2 separate regions of the Homo sapiens genome follow, and region 2 is linked to region 1. The links are contacts of gene promoters, found by promoter capture Hi-C in human tissues and cell types (Jung and others, 2019). All regions are on one chromosome and are shown on one strand. Each heading gives the region's core, a stretch centred on a gene start or on the middle of the fragment in contact. The rest is flanking DNA. Distances are from core to core; before and after follow the strand shown. Region 1 holds the start of DPP9 (dipeptidyl peptidase 9). Region 2 holds the start of ZBTB7A (zinc finger and BTB domain containing 7A).

Region 1 (4,047 bases), core at 455-2,954:
AAGGGGGAGACTCAAACTAAAGTCCTTTCAGGGCCAGAATCCACACCATTTACTGACCGGGTCAGGCAGTGTAGGTGGATCCAGGCACCCCTCCACCAAATCCTGCTGAAATCAGCACTCTCCCCTTCCTCTCCTCAAAGCCTTCAAAAAGCTCCTTCCAGGGGCAGCTAGAGGGGGACAGGGGTGGAAAGAAAAGCCTCCAGCAGGCGCACAAAAAACTGCAGCCACTGCCCTGCGGAGGACAACCATCCAGGGCCATAGAAAACCATTTCCTGCCCATGTCTATATTCTAGAGCAGGCAAAGGAATCCCACCAGCCCACACCCCAGCCTTCCTGGCTGCCAAACCCCAGCACAACTGACCTTCTAAAGGGTCCAGAGAGCCTCCATTCCAGCTGCAGGCGTGGGACACAGACCTTTATAGGATAAACATGTCATGAATGTGGCAGGTTAATGGAAGCACCGGCCAGCCGTTCAGCCTCCCCCACTCAGGAGCTGCAGACTGTCAGGCCCGATTCTACCTGGCTAGATTCTAGCTCTGCCTTGAAGCCCTGCAGCACTGTCTGCATGCCCTGGACAGAATCTGGGAGAGAAGCCATCCCACGGGCCCCGATTCCCCTGGGACCCAGCAGAGGAATGCAGGGATTGGTGCCTACGGTCCACACCCCCTGGGCTTTAGTCCCAGCTCCTCGAAAGCAGGTTGGTTCTTGCCTGGGAGGCAAGTGACTTCCTCCTGGGGCCCCTGGGGAAGACCAGGGGGTGGGGGCCAAGGGAATAGACCACTTTTGATGGCTCAGAGGCAGCGTGAACAGGGAAGTGTCAGGGCTGGCCTAAGGCTGTGTGGGAAGAAGGTAGGCGGTTGGACAGGCCTGAGAAGGGAGGCTGAGAGAAGGGGGCTGAACCCTGTGGGCTGGACCCTTGGAAGACAGCTATGCTAACCACTACACCACCAACGCCTCGGCAGGAAAAAGAGTCTCTGGATACCCTTAATAGAGGGATCAAGTAGGGTTGAGGATCAGGACTGGATTGGGGAGACCAAGCCTCGGGGCGAAGGTTGGAGGAAGTGGTAAAGGAGTGAGGACAGGATGCAGGTCGAGGGAGGTGGCCTCTGTGCATATACAGCATTTGCATGGGGAGAGGGAGGAGATCGGGACCTCCAGAGCCTGCACGAAAGGGGAGAGGGTGTCAAGGTCTGCAGCTACGAGGACGTTCTTGGGTGCGGCCACCTCCGGAAGGGGTCAGAGCCTGGTGGCCTGGGCAGCAACGGGATGGGTGGGGAAGCCCATCAGGGAAGGGGAGAAACTGGGAGGTGGCCTGGCCAGCGCAGGAATCGGGGAGGGAAAGAAGGTGGAGGAGGGCCTGGGGCGGAGAGGAAACGAGGCAGGGGGCCGGAGGGACCCACAGACGGGTGCATGGAGGCTCCGGGGTGCGGGGAGGCCAGGCGATGGCGAGGGCAGGGTCAGGGCCGAGGCGGGGCCGGTCAATGGCGGGTTCAGGGTCGCGGCCGGGGCGGGACGAGGCGCGCGGGCGCTGCTCACCGGGACGTGGGGCGGCGGCCGGACTGGGCAGGTCGTCCCGGGTCCAGCGGCGCCTCACGGTCGCGGCTCCATGCCCGGGACTGCGACCCCGGAAGTGGCGGGAGCGGGGGACGACAGCCGCGGCGGACACAGGGGACCCGCCGGCTCAGGCACCTTTGACCCGGAAGTTGAGCGACCCAGGCGGCGGCCTGGGATTGGACACCACCAGGCACGTACCAAGGCGTCCGCGGCGCTTGGGGGGGAGCCCGCGGCGCGGCGGCCTAAGGTGCGTAACGCCCCATGAACGACATCTTCCGGTGGGTTAGGGAGAGACACCCCCCTGTGACTTGGTATCACTCAGTCAAACCCATGATCCCCCACTATTAAGGATATCCGGAGAGGATGCTACCTATCAGGGCGTTGGTGGTATAGTGGTTAGCATAGCTGCCTTCCAAGCAGTTGACCCGGGTTCGATTCCCGGCCAACGCATGCGGTACCACTTTTGCGAGTTTGAAATTTTCATTTTAGTTTTGAGACGGAGTCTCGCTCGGTCCCCCAGGCTGGAGTGCAGTGGCGTGATCTCCGCTCACTGCAACCACCACCTCCCAGGTTCAAACGATTCTCCTGCCTCAGCCTCCCAAGTAGCTGTGATTACAAGCGCACGCCACCACGCCCATCTAATTTTTGTATTTTTAGTAGAGATGGGGTGGGGTGGGGCGGGGTGGGGCGGGGTGGGGGGGGGGGGGCGGTTCACCATTTTGGCCAGGCTGGTCTCGAACTCTGACTTCAGGTGATCCGCCCTCTTCGGCCTTTCAAAGTGCTGGGATTACAGGCGTGAGCCATCAATCACGGAAAATTTTTTTAAATCCCATAAAAATGTCTAAAAGGCAGGAGGAAGGCGGAAGAGAAAGAATGGGACTAGAATCGTTCTTTCGGTGAATTTCAAATAGTATTACTCTCCGGTTAGGAAAAACAGCTGACCTGTTTCCGCCCGGGATCGAACCGGGGACCTTTCGCGTGTGAGGCGAATGTGATAACCGCTACACTACGGAAACCGGTAGGCGTCAGGGTTCTTTAAATTCTCCTATAGAGATAATGTTGCAGTGATAGTTGCGTTGTCCCACCAAAGAAACACTGGCTACAGTCAGCTAAAGCAATATCCGCTCTTCCTGAATATCTGTTATTGTATTTGATACAGTAGAGACCGAAAGAAGGAAAATAAGGAAGACAAAAAGAAATCCAATAAACACCCTTTCCAACACACCCACCCACCCACACACATGTTTATCACTTTATCATAAATCCACCTTCCATTAAAACAATGCACGTCAAACGGCCCACAAACCCATCCGGGGTCAAATGAAGCTTTTCATCTCATAGATATCAATCTATACTTGATATCACATTAGTTTCTGCAGATATTCACCATTTTGCTTTAGATCAAACTACTTTTTTGTGTGTTTTGTTTTTTGTATTTTTTAGAGAGAGTCTCGTTCTGTCGCCTAGGCTCGAGTGCAGTGGTACGATCATCCCTCCCTGCAGCCTCCACCTCCTGGGCTCAAGCGATCCTCCCACCTCAGCCTCCTGGGTAGCTTGGACCACAGGTGTGGACCACCACGCCTGGCTGAATTTTAAAAAATGCGTTTGTAGAGACGGTGCCTTATAGCTGGGACTACAGGCGTGTGCAACCACTCCCAGCTAACTTTTGTATTTTTTGTAGAGACTAGAGGGCCTGCACTATGTTGCCCAGGCTGCTTTCCAGCTCCTGACCTCAACGTGATTCGCCCGCCTGCAGCCTCCCAAAGTACTGGGATTACAGGCATGAGCCACCGCGCCCGACCCCAACTACACTGTAAAAGAGCTTTCTGAAAAGAAAAACTGTGTGTGTATGTGTTTACCTTCCGATGGAGTTTTGCTCCTGTTGCCCAGGCTAGAATGTAGTAGCGCAATCTCAGCTCACTACAACCTCCGCCTCCCGGATTCAAGCGATTCTCCTGCCTCAGCCTCCCAAGTAGCGGGGATTACAGGCACCCGCCACCACGCCTGACTATATTTTGTATTTTTACTAAAGATGGAGTTTCGCCATATTGGTCATGGCTGGTCTCGAACTCCTGACCTCAAGAGATCCGCCCGCCTGAGTCTCCCAGAGTGCTGGGATTACAGGCATGTGCCACCACGCCAGGCCTCTTTATTTTCTTAAAGAGACAGTAGAAGAGGTGGGAAGATGATGGCAAGAATTTAGAATCAGACTGCTGTAAAATTCTGCACACCCTCACTCCTGCGGGGCTGGGATTAGGGTGAGGAGACTAAAGCATTGTAAGGCACTGGCACCAGGTGCAAAAATTAAGGTGGTGCCAAAAAACTCAATAATCAAGATAAATAATATTTCAATACATCTTTTTTTCTCTCTCTGTTGTCGCTGGAGTACAGTGGCACAATCTTGACTTACTGCAACCTCCACCTCCCAGGTTCAAGCTATTCTCGTGCCTCAGCCTCCCTAGTAGCTGGGATTACAAACATGAGCCACTATGC
Region 2 (4,047 bases), core at 694-3,193, 660 kb before region 1:
GCGCCTCCCAGAACCCGCAGAGGCCCGGTCCCTGGGGGGGCACCCGCTCCTCCGCTCCGCTCAGCCCCCAGCCAGGCTCCCAGGCCGGGGGGGCTGGGTCTCCCGCCCGGGAGGTAGGGAGCGGGAGGGAGGGGGCTGGATCCCACCAGCTCCCCCCTCCCCTGCCCGGGCTCAGGCTTCGCACGTGGTGGTGGCGTCAAGGGAAAGGAGGGGGGGTCCGGGCCAGAGGAGACGGGGTCACGCGCTTTGGGGGCGCGGACGGCGGGGACTGGGGTGCTCTCTCCGCCCCCTCCCGCGGGTCGGAGCCGGACGGCCGTCCGGGCAGGGCGAGGGGCCAGGCCAGGCCCCCCACCCGGGGCTGAGTCAGGCCCGGGCGGGGGCAGGAAGCGGCCCCCTCCCCCGCCCCGGCCGCAGCGCGCGGCCCCCGCCCGGCCCGCGGTCCCCCGCCGCCTCGCCCGCGCGGGGGGCTCCTACCTCCTTCCCGGGGCAGCGGCGAGGGGGCCCGGCCCCGGCGGCGGCGGTGGCGGCGGCTGCGGCTGGGCTGGCTCCCTCCGAGGGGCCGGGAGGCGGCAGTGAGCCTGGCCCCGCGCCACCCCCCGCCGCCGGCGGCCAATCCCCACCCGGGCTGGGGGGAGGGCGATGCAAATTACCCCGGATCTGGGTCCGCCCGCCCGCCTCCCCCACGCCCGGGCCCGGCCTGCGCTAGGCCGCGCATCCCCGGGCTCGCCTGCACCGCGCGGCCGCCCGGGCCGCCGCCCTCCCCGGGGAGCGCGGGGAGGGTGACCCCCCCCCCACGGGCGGGGGGCCGAGGGGAGGGGGGCTGGGGACGGTTACACAACCAGGCGGGGAGGGGCCCCGGGGCGGGGAGGGGGCCGGCCCGCGGGCCGCGCAGCCGGAAGCCGGGACCGCCACCGGCCCCCGGCGAGGGGAGCCCGGCTCCAGGCCCCGCCCCCTGGCGGGCTGGCCCCGCCCCCGCGCCGCGCCGCGCGATCGGCCCGCGCCCATTGGCTCTCCGGCCCGCCGCTCACCGCCCCTCCTCCGCACCGCCCCTACCCGCAGGCCGCGGCGGGCTGTCGGCGCGGGGCACCCTGGGACTTGTAGTCCAAGCCGCTTGCCACCTGCCGGCTGCAAACGGCGGAGGGACTACGAAGCCCAGAGGTCCCTGCGGCCCTGCCCGCCCACCCGGACACCCCACCCCTTCCCCCTCCTTTCCGAAGCCCCCCTCCCTGTTTTTTCAGCCCCCTCCCCCCCATCCCCCATGGAGCTCAATCCTGGCCAACTCCAACGTATGCACGCAGCACCGAATAGGCCCCCGGGGGGCGAGAGCGCCCCTCGTCTTCAGCTGGAAACTTAGCAGGCGACGCGCCCCCCTATCTCCCCACGCCGGCTCCCCCCACCCTCAATGCAGCCCTGCTTCCCCTCCCCCGCTCCCCGCGCGCCTGGGAGCCCCGAAAAGCCATGCACCCGGGTTGGGGGGGGCTGGCGCACAAGCTCATGCACTTAGCCCCCAATCCCCCCTTCCCGGGCGGCGCCCCCTCCCCGCGCTCGGGATCCAGGGCGCCTCCAGCCTCCGGGCAGCTGCCAACCACCCCTTCCTCTGAAACTTGGGGGAACGTCCCCGGCTCCCCGGATCTCCCCTTCCCGAGGGGGCAGCGGTGGCCGCAGCGACCCCCGCCCGTCCCCGCCCTGCACCCCGTGCCGGGGGCCGCGCCGGGCGCTGACTTACCTCGCGGGGCCGGGCCGGGGCGCGCGGGGCCGGGGCCCGAAGTTGGGACTGGGCTCCCTCGGCCGCTCGCCTCCGGGGTCCGCGGCGCTCGCTCTGCCCGCGTCGCGCTGCCCTGGTCGCTCCCTCGCGCGGCGGCGGCGGCGTCACTGCCCCTACAGTAACTGTACAGTACAGCCAAAGCCCCGTATGATGCTCGCGACTCCCTTCCTGGTTTCTCCGAGGGCAAGAGGGGTCCTCCCTTGTCTTAAAGGTGCCGCAGCCGCCGGCCCCCCCACGCCCAGCCCGCCCCCCCCAGCCTGGCCTCGGAGGCCAGAACAGGCTCGGCAGGTCCCCTCTTGCCACGTCTCTGCCCTCCCGTGGGGCTTCGCCCGCTGCGCCGGGGAGACCGGGCTGTTATTAGGTTTTGTCAAGTCGGGGGGGGGGGTCCGGCCCGCCCCGGCGCGCCCCCCCGCCTCTGACCTCTCCGCCCCGCCGCGCGGCGCCGTGCCAGCTTGCCAGCTTATCTGGCCCCAGAGCTCCCCGGGGCGCGGGGGGAGCGGGCCCCCCGGGGTGGAGGGGGGGTGGGGGCCTCCAGATAAACAGGCCCCCAGCCTCTGCGCAGGGGCGGGGTGCGGGGGGGCGCGGGCTGTGCCCCCGACGCCCGGGGCGTGGCAGGATGGCAGCGGGGGCGGGGAGCGCGGTGCGCACAGCGAGGAGCGACGCGGGCGTGTGGGTCGCGCGGCCTGGGCTGCCGGGGGTGGGTTGGGGGTGAGGCGGTGGGGATCCCCCCGCAAGGCCAGGCCCTGGGCCTCCCCGGGCCTCAGTGGGACTTGCCGCGCCAGGGACCCCGGGGGGTGGCCTTGCCAAGGACAGCCCGGGTCCGCGGGGCTCCCGGGTCCCTAAATGAAACCACCAACCTGCCCTCCCGCGATTATATAAAGGAGTCGCCTCCACCCCGCTGCGCTAGGGGCGTCAGCGGGGGAAGGGGTTGGCGAGGGGCGGGGAGGGCGGTTGTTTTCCCGGCTTCGCGAGTTCCCCCACCCGGCTGCGGGCCGCGGGGCGGGACGGGGACCGGGCCCTGGACGCCTGGTCCGCGCGGGCCGCTCCTTGGCACAAGGGGGTCTGCATGGCTCGCGAGGGGCGGAGGTGGGGAGTGGGGAGGCGTTGGTTCAGCGCGACTTTTTTTTTTCCCCTGTCCGTTTCTCCCACTTCCTCCCCGGTCGTGGGAGAGGTCCGGCGGGGGACAGGGAAGGGGGAGCAGGGCACGAGTGGTGAGAACGTCCTGGCCCGGCCCGGGGAGGGCTGGCTGGTGCGACCGCGCGCCTGGGGGGGGGGGGGAGGGCTCCAGGACTCAGTTTCCCCTTCCTCATTCCTCCAGACAGAGAGAGTACTGACAGCTGCTTTAGCTGCCGTTTAGTGAGCGCTTATCCAGTGGGTGACCCTGTTCCGGGGCTCACTGTGCCTTCATTCTAACACCTAATCCCAGGGTCATTATTATGTTTTATTATTATCTGGCATTCTTAGTACCAACACCACCTGACAGCGGGAACCACCACCGGCCTGGGTGTAGTGTACCCAGCCTGTCCTCTGACTTCAAAGCCTCTCCTGCGAGAGACACAGTTTATGGCTTCTTCGCACAATTTATTAAAAGCGCCTTTCAACACCCAAACGGGTTGGATTGGCTTTTGTAATAATAATCTGGCTACGAGGGGAAACCCGGGAGGGCCCCCCGGAGGGGAAGTGGACTGTCTCAGGACTCGCAGCCTGAAACCAGCCGGGTAGGTGGGAAGGGACCCAGGGAGGGGCCGCGTGGATCTAGGGCGAGGGTGTCATCCAGGGACTTTGCTCCAAGGACCCTGCCTGGGATAGAAATCCTTCTTCCTTCAACCACCGGCCATCAGCCTCGGGACCAGGAGGCCACGCTGAAGCACGATTCTTCCCAGATCCCACTGTTGTGTTTGGATTTCTGCAAATGATGCCCAGACGTTTTTTTTTGTTTTGTTTTTTTGTTTTTTGTTTTAGACAGACTTGCTCTGTCGCCCAGCCTGGAGTGCAATGGCACGATCTTGGCTTACTGCAATCTCCGCCTCCCGGGTTCAAGCGATTCCCCTGCCTCAGCCTCCTGAGTAGCTGGGATTACAGGCACCTGCCACCACGCCCGGCTAATTTTTTTTTTTTTTTTTGTATTTTTAGTAGATACAGAGTTTTGCCATGTTGGCAAGCCTGGTCTCAAACTCTTGACTTCAGGTGATCCAACCACCTTGGCCTCCCAAAGGGCTGGGATTACAGGCGTGAGCCACCGTGGCTGGCCTTGGTTTTTTTTGTTTGTTTGTTTTGTTTTT

What was found. The method cuts DNA at HindIII sites, captures the fragments that hold promoters and counts their contacts. A contact is called where the count stands out against the background at its distance.
Region 2: a contact is called between the fragment with the promoter of ZBTB7A here and the fragment with the promoter of DPP9 in region 1, in 1 of the 25 tissues and cell types used here (pancreas).

Annotation. Positions count from the first base shown.
Region 1 is chr19:4,722,138-4,726,184 of GRCh38, forward strand. DPP9 (dipeptidyl peptidase 9) reads right to left here and starts at 1,705. Exons shown (of 22, transcript NM_139159.5): 1 at 1,537-1,705; 2 at 362-414. It overlaps TRG-TCC1-1 (tRNA-Gly (anticodon TCC) 1-1), which reads left to right and starts at 1,933; the gene lies at 1,933-2,004. TRV-CAC3-1 (tRNA-Val (anticodon CAC) 3-1) reads right to left here and starts at 2,570; the gene lies at 2,498-2,570. It overlaps LOC105372250 (a long non-coding RNA gene), which reads left to right and starts at 743. Exons shown (of 3, transcript XR_936274.2): 1 at 743-849; 2 at 2,483-2,572; 3 at 2,998-3,450. RefSeq lists silencers at 1,506-1,655, 1,886-1,975, 2,426-2,625. The HindIII fragment of the contact is 28,361 bases long and covers 1-4,047 here.
Region 2 is chr19:4,064,956-4,069,002 of GRCh38, forward strand. ZBTB7A (zinc finger and BTB domain containing 7A) reads right to left here and starts at 1,944. Exons shown (of 3, transcript NM_015898.4): 1 at 1,727-1,944. RefSeq lists silencers at 475-1,244, 1,725-1,924, 1,935-1,984, 2,025-2,084, 2,295-2,404 and 3 more. The HindIII fragment of the contact is 23,363 bases long and covers 1-4,047 here.